Regions from separate parts of the Homo sapiens genome. Here region 1 is linked to region 2. The links are contacts of gene promoters, found by promoter capture Hi-C in blood cells and fetal thymus (Javierre and others, 2016). All regions are on one chromosome and are shown on one strand. Each heading gives the region's core, a stretch centred on a gene start or on the middle of the fragment in contact. The rest is flanking DNA. Distances are from core to core; before and after follow the strand shown.

The links. The method cuts DNA at HindIII sites, captures the fragments that hold promoters and counts their contacts. A CHiCAGO score of 5 or more calls a contact.
Region 1: the fragment with the promoter of LINC00544 here is called in contact with the fragment with the promoter of TEX26-AS1 in region 2 in 4 of 17 cell types (fetal thymus, monocytes, M2 macrophages and 1 more); the score reaches 9.1 in fetal thymus.

The regions. Positions count from the first base shown.
Region 1 is chr13:29,935,062-29,938,797 of GRCh38, forward strand. LINC00544 (long intergenic non-protein coding RNA 544) reads left to right here and starts at 1,470. Exons shown (of 5, transcript NR_033889.1): 1 at 1,470-1,640; 2 at 2,141-2,220; 3 at 2,845-2,948. RefSeq lists enhancers at 534-653, 784-903. The HindIII fragment of the contact is 6,836 bases long and covers 1-3,736 here.
Region 2 is chr13:30,930,556-30,934,228 of GRCh38, forward strand. It overlaps TEX26-AS1 (TEX26 antisense RNA 1), which reads right to left and starts at 2,053. Exons shown (of 4, transcript NR_038287.1): 1 at 691-2,053; 2 at 246-319. TEX26 (testis expressed 26) reads left to right here and starts at 2,101. Exons shown (of 7, transcript NM_152325.3): 1 at 2,101-2,221. The coding sequence starts at 2,161. The HindIII fragment of the contact is 4,425 bases long and covers 1,273-3,673 here.

The DNA.
Region 1 (3,736 bases), core at 220-2,719, 1.0 Mb before region 2:
GGAGATTCTGGTGACACCCCGCCTCCCTGGCTTCAATCTCTCTAGCTGTAAGCCTGGGGATTGGAAGACTTGGCACAGTCTTTCCTCCCCAAGGGTGCCGTGCTGATGATGTTTGCAGAGTGCATCACACTCCTCTGATAAAAGGTGTCTCCTGAGTACAAAGTATCATTGTCACTATATTCCACAATGTGGCTAAATATAGGTGTGCACCAATCTGCTGAAGAGCAGAGTGTCTCTTCAGCATTTGCCTGGGAGGAGCAAGTGGCCCAGTGGCTGCATAGGATGCAGCAGAAAAGAGCTGGCATGCAGCAGCAGTGTACCTGAGACCAGGGCATGGGGAGAGGGAAAGGCCCTGCATGCCCCCCTGGTGGGCAGCCCCAGCCCACTTGGTGACAGTGAGGCCTGAGTGCAGCAAGGCTGGAGTCATGCTGTGAAAGCCCACAGTAGCAGAGCCCCTGCCAGGAATATAGCAAGGAGATCACAGATCACAGAGTACATTGCACCTGCCCCATGCAGTGGCGGAGCAAGACGCTCAAGGGTCTGGAGTTAAGAGGGACCATTTGAGGTTAAGAGGGAAGGAGTCTCCCTTGTTTTGGTTTTTGTTTTTTGTTTTCCCACACAGTCCCAGAGGGTACTGTGGTGTTCTGACACACTCCCTGTGTCAGAGCTGTTTTTTCATTATGACCAAGACAGAGCAGGTGTGAGAGCTGAGCATCCTCCCCTTGCTGTGCTCCTCTGGTCTCCAAGGCACCCTCCCCATGCGCTGCTTCCTTCCACTTACCGCCCTCGCACGGCACCACATCCTGAGCTCTGCTTGTTCCCTCTTCAGACTGGCAGGTGGTTATAGAGGTGTTTGGGGTGTCAGCTCTGAAATGCTAAAAATAAAACCAGGCTTTCTATCCTGGGATGTCTCATTAGTTTGCTTACAAATGAGTCCCCCTGCAGTTTTTCAGCAATTGGCTAACAAGCTCTAATTTGAGCGTTTGGGCTGGACCTTGGCTCAGTGGGAGCAGACGCGGAGCAGACGCCTTCTCGGAGCTGCCTGTTTGGGGAAGCTGGTCGTTTCCACTCTAGCTCAGCCTCCCAGAACAGGGAAGCTGCAGGAAAGTTGACAAAAGCACAGCAAAGCAGGGAGAGCCTCCTCGGTAGAGAGCAACGACCAGGTGGGTGTGGGTGTGGAGAGCAGTGGGGCCCACCTGGGCAGGTGCGGGGGGATGGGAGGAGGGGCTGAGAGTGCTCTCTAAGTTAAGGTCACGGTGTAGAGGAGAGGACTTGAAAACTTCCTGCAGCAGCTTCGTGGCCCGGTGAAATGTTCTCAGCAGCAAGCATGAAGCTCTGATTTGTAAAAAAATCAATACGGCTTGCATGCCAACTATGCCTTCTCCAATCCTGCATTTGTGATGTCAGAGGTTGTCATTCTGGGCTATGGAGCAAACCTTTCAGGGTTGACCCAGTCCTTCTAGGTCATGTGGAGTGGGCCAGCTTTAATGAACCTGTCTAAAAGGAAGGAAGAGAAAGAGCTCAGCTCCTTAGGGGAACAAGGTGGACCTTGGCAGCTGTCTCACTCCTCACCAGCTCTTCACCTCAGATCTTGTCCTGACTTCCTGGTCCACTAACGGCCTCCTGGATAGAAGAGTCAGGTAATGATCCCTGCCTTTCAATACTCATTGCTCAGTTTCAACAATCATCAACAATTTGCCAATCTCATTTCATCTCTCCTCTTATCTTTTTCCTTTTCTGGAGTATTCAGATCCTCTCACTTTCTGAGTGGAACTAAGAGTCTTCCTCACCTTCATCACCACTATTAGCTTATAAACCTCTTTTAAGGACAGGGATTCACCTCAGCTCAATTATGTTTTGTTACACACGTGGTACCCATCTTCTGTGTTGAGAGATGTTTGAATTATACAGTTTTTAGTGCATTAAGTGTTAGTGTTTGGGATCCAATTTGGCTCACTCTAGATGAGCTATAGAGTCTTCATTTTTTCTCCTCTCCCTTTTTCCTTCTTGAGTTAAAAATCACAGTTACCCAGCCTCCCCATACCTCCCCCCGCACCCTATATTACCACTTGTTTTTCTTTCTTTTTTCTAACCACACCCTGAGGCATTTCACCAGCAACTCTTTATTATCTAACCACAGTTCACCAGCCCAGGAGATGTTCTGAAAATTGACAATGATCATGATATACCCTGGATCCAGAATACTTCTCTATACAATGGGTGTGTATAAAGACAGACAGACCTGCCAGGCTCCATCAGGAAAGCTCTGTGTCTCCTTCACATGTGGAGGGACAGAATATTATCTGGAGATGGAGAATGCTTCTGAGAGCCTCTAGCACAGGGATCCCCAACCCCACAGCCTCGGGCAGGTCCCAGTCCCAGTCTGTGGCCTGTTAGGAACCGGGCCACACAACCGGGGGTGAGCGGTGGGCAAGTGAGCGTTACCACGTGAGCTCTGCCTCCTGTCGGATCAGCCGGTAGCATAAGAGTCTCATAGAAGCGTGAACTCTATTGTGAATTGCGCAAGTGAGGGCTCTAGGTTGGGTGCTTCTTATGAGAATCTAATGCCTGAGGATGAGGCAAAACAGTTTCATTCCAAAATCATCCCCCGGACCCCATCTGTGGAAAAATTGTCTTCCATGAAACCCGTCCCTAATGCCAAAAAATTTGGAGACCACTGCTCTAGTAGGCCTGCCTACTGGGCTTACTTTGTGTATATGAAATTGATAATTATTCCTCGTTTCAGAAATTTAAAATGTTACATTTATATTTCTTTCATATTTCCAACATTGTACCAAAGGTCAGTCCTAGAATGCTTTGTTTTAGCTGTTTTTCTTTCCTTAGGCAGAGAACAAAGATTGGTGGCTTCCTCCTGAGCACACTGGGATGTGGCATTACATCGGGGCTGCTGAGTGCCCTTACCTTCAGCTGCCCAGATGCAGAGGCAGGTGGGTGGGGCCAGGGAGTTTGATGCTTCACCTCCTTAAGTGAGAACTGCATCATGCAAACAGTCAGCTCTCAGCCAGATGGCACCACAAGGTTCTGTGAATTTCTCTCAGCACAACAAGCACATCTGCCAGTTGGGTTCCAATGCTGTTTTCTCTTTTCTTCTCGGCACTAGACACCAGGGCTTTAATTACACAGCCAAACTCAGCCGCAGAACACTCCCCAGTCTCGTCCTGGCTGGGCCCAGGACCTCCCCACCTCTTCAAAAGCCCCAAAATGGAACGATCATGGCCGGTCATCAGGGCCGGCAGGTGCAAAGGTGCTAAGTGGGCTGAGCTGACCCTGTACTCCTCTTGGTTCTCTCTGTAATGATCCCCTCTTCCTCACAGGCCCCCTTTGCCCTGATCTCGCCCTCCCACCTGCTGTCGGAGGGCCCCTCATGGAGATGCTCAGCCAGGCCCAGACCTCAGCGCTCCCTTGGCCTGGCCTTTCCACTGGGCTTCCTCGTGTCCTTAGTGCCCGGGTCCCCAGGGGAAGGCTTGGCCAGAGAGCTGCTTGGAAGCAACAGTTATTACGTAGACAATTGACAGAAATCTGTGTGGTTGTGCGGCCACACTCCTTTGTCAATCCTGCCCAGATATCCTGCTTTCCTCATAACAGCCAGCATTTTTCTGAGTGCTCACTATGTGCCAGGCACTTTACTGTATTAACTCATTTAATCCTACAACAACCTTATGAGGTAGGTGCTGCTGTTAATCACATTTTACAGATGAGAAAACTGAGGCACAGA
Region 2 (3,673 bases), core at 803-3,302:
CAAAGGCAGGAATAGTGCTATACCGCTAGCCATAAAATGGACCCACGCAAAAATACACTTTGAAGTAGAAAGACTATAAAAGGAATGAAGATCAGAATAGCAACAAGAGCAATATCTTAGATTTGTGTGATTTTACAATTTATAAATTATTGTTAGAACTCATCATGTTTACAGCACAGTGAGGTGGGTGCTGGTATTCTCATTTACAGATAAGGAGACCAGGGATCAGGGAAGGATTTGCTTACCCCTAAGGGCCTGCAGTGACAGAAAGATCCTTTGGCTCTCTATTTGGTTCCTACCGCACCATTTCACAGCTTGCCTAAAATGAGACAAATTGTAAGATATTAATAAGAATTCACTTTCAAAATTCTATATACTTGCTGCTCTATTTTAAACATATATTTCTCTTAAATTATGCTATGCTAATTAGCTCTACCATTTCCAGACAGTAATCTGTTATTGGGTGCTACTTTTTAAATTTAGATGCCACTACTAAATCCTAATTTAGACTCATTCCTTTTAATAACATCTATGCCTTCTAATGTGTTCCACCCTCCATTGCTTCAAAACATGAGAGTTTATAATGTGTTATATTCATTCCATTATATGGATAGAACTCTACCTTCAGGAAATTCTAGTTTAGCTCTTCATTTTAAAGACATTCCTTGCACATATATTTGGGATCCTTACCTTGATGCTTTTTCTGTCTCCTTTGATAAATTCCTCCTTTGTCACACTGCACTGTTTCTCTGAGGTCTTGTATTAGAATAGCCCCTTAAGAATAAGGAACTGTTGTAAATTGCTTTGTAAACAGGTTGCCAGCCAACTCCAAAATGTATTTCCTGTCTTCTCTTTTCACCCAAGTGGGTAATAACTGTGTTGTAACCTGGAGACAGTCAGTAGTTACTAACCACCTAGTATGTCAAATTACCAGGTAAGGTTATCCAGCAAAAGGGGCTCACTGCACTAGAAGCCAACACTATGACACCAAGTTTTTGAGAAAAGGAAAGCTTCACATTGCAAGTTAACTTCTGAGGAAACAAAAGTCCAGTTCAAATCTGTCTTGTACTGGCTTTAGGGCAGTAATTTTATTACAAAAGGTTTAGGGTTGGATCCTGGGGTTAGCAGGTGATTGGTGGAAGCAAAGGGAACATCTGGGAAGTCTTCAGGCATGCATGGCTCTCTCTTCATGCTTCCTGGTGGGTCCCATGTGCAAATTTGGAGGGAGTTGGTATGAAACATGCAGTAGAAATTCAGGCTGTGACATCAGCAAGCTTGCTGTGCGCAAACTGCATTTGGCCATATTGATTCCGGCTGATTTCAGTCAGTTTTGTTATAAGCAGAGGGAGTTTCAGCAAATTGTTTCTTTTCTTATCTGCCCCTGAAAACAAGAATTTCTGTTAGTTATTGGTGTCTTTGACTCTTTGAAACAGTTTCAGTAGTTCCCAAGATATGAAGATAAAAGACCCCCTTCATCAGTGAAAACTCTTACAAGGGGATGAAAGACACAGCTTCCTCTATGAGAGCACAAGAACAATTAAATTGACCCTCACAAACACTATGGTTGGTGCCAGGAACGTGGCCTGGTGAGGAGGACAGTGTCACATCCTCCCTGCCCACTCCTGTTTCCACGCGTGCATTTCCTCTTCTGCCCCTCTCCTAAGCCAGGATGACCCTTCTGACCGCGTGGAACTATCACAGAAACTGCTTCCATTTATACCAGATGACTTGGGATTCAGTCTTCTTGCTTGGTTTTTATTGACTGCAAAAATCCATGACAACTTTGCGCACATTTGCTTAAGCTGAAAGCAAATGGATGAAAGTTTGTAGTTGAAAATCTACTTTCTCTTCAATCTCTTCCCTTTTTGCTTTTCTTAGGAAACATACAAGACAGTGGTCCGGAAAGCTCACTGCAAGAACTGTACAAATAATGTAAAAGTAAGGCATCCATAAGATCAAAGCCACATTTCTTTGCTCTCTGCACCCCATTCCCGCGCCGGCCAGGTTAAGCCTCCTGCGTGGCCAGCACCCCTTGGCAGGGGCAGAACTCCCTGGAACCCGATCCTTGTCTCCATGGCGACGCGTCACAAAGCAGCCCGCGGCTCCCGCAAGCGCTGAGATAGCTGGAGCCAGGGCCCCGCGGCCGCCTCCTGGGGCAGAATGGAACAGCCTGGGCCCAGGGCTCCGGATCCCTCTCTCTGCCACCACAACCTCCAGCCAAGTAAGACAGCAGACTCTGCCGGTCTGCGGGGCGGGGCTGGGGTCTTTCCCGGGGAAAGGGTCCTGTTGAGAAAAAGGGGCCTTAGTATTTAAGGGTGTGGCATCGCTCTTAGGAGTATGCTCAACTGAGGAAAAGACGGGGAGTCAGGGAGAATGACAGGGCCTTCATGACGCTGCCCCTTTTCAGTCCTTCGCATAACCTTTGCCAAATCCCCGCTCCCTAAAACGCGCAGGGTTTTTAAACACTCGAGGAAGTGCCTGGCTAAGAGGGGACAGGAAAAAAGGAAGAACTGGTGATTTTCCAAGGAAAACAGGGCCAAAGGCAAAGAAGAAAGAGAAGTCCTGGAAGCTCTGAAGAGAACAGGTCCTGCCTGAGTCCCGATCCCCATATAGGATCTTGGAAACAGCAAGGAAAGTGGGGGAAGGGTTGGCTGCTGAATGGAGTCCCAGCTGTGTCTGCAGAGGCAGACGCCCTCCCTGGGCTGTCGCACCAGGCTGGGAGCCATGGCCTTCAGCTGCCGCCTCTAACCTGAATTGATTTTTCTTCCACAGAGATTTTGTATTTCACAGAGGTAGTGCTTTTCATCCTAATTCTGCCCACAGATGCAGCAGGTTCACCAGTTCAGCCTTTTGGGTCTGTGGAGGGAGAACCACTCTAGCTGTGACGCTAGTGGCATGATTACCGTGTAGTCAGCTCCATCATAGTCTCTTGTGGCAATAATTGGCCATTGCTGCTGTATAGTTGGGTAACTGTGATTCCACAGTGGCTATGGAGCAGTGAAGGATTGTTCAAGTACAAATTCCCTAGAATTGTGCTCCCAAAAGAGTGAATGAAATGCATATTTTCATTCCAATTCATTCCGTTGTAAATTAAGAATGGAAAATGAAAATACTTAATTAGTGCAGAAAATATCTAATACACTCAGTTTCTATATGATGGGAAGGCAAACAGGAGAGACAGAGGAGGGAGGATCCCCTCCTAGCATCCCGACAGCACCCCTTTGGATGCTTCTCTTCCCTTTCTAACCACCCTGTTTTCCCACTGTCTCCCCATTTCATCCCCTTCTTGTCTGGGAACTGTTGGAGTCCCCCAGGATTGATCCTTCTAGGCTTACCTTCTCTTTGTGACCATATCCTGCACAGGGCTTCAAGTGCTGCATAAAGGTGCCAACAACTCTCTAACCTTTATCTCTGACTTGGACTTTCTTCCTACTTTTTCAGACCAGAATATCTAACTGTCTACCAGACAGTTCCATGTGGGTGTCACAGCAGGGCCTCCAACTTGACATGTGCAAAATCACACTCCTTGTCCTCCTCAAACCTTCCAGACTTTGAGAGTTCAGTTAAGAGGGTCCTAGCTGCTCAATTTAGAAGGGAAGGCAGCTTCCTTGAGACTGCAGTTTGATCACCAGGTCTCTTTGATTCTGCCTCCAAAGCTCTTTTTCCCCCAGGT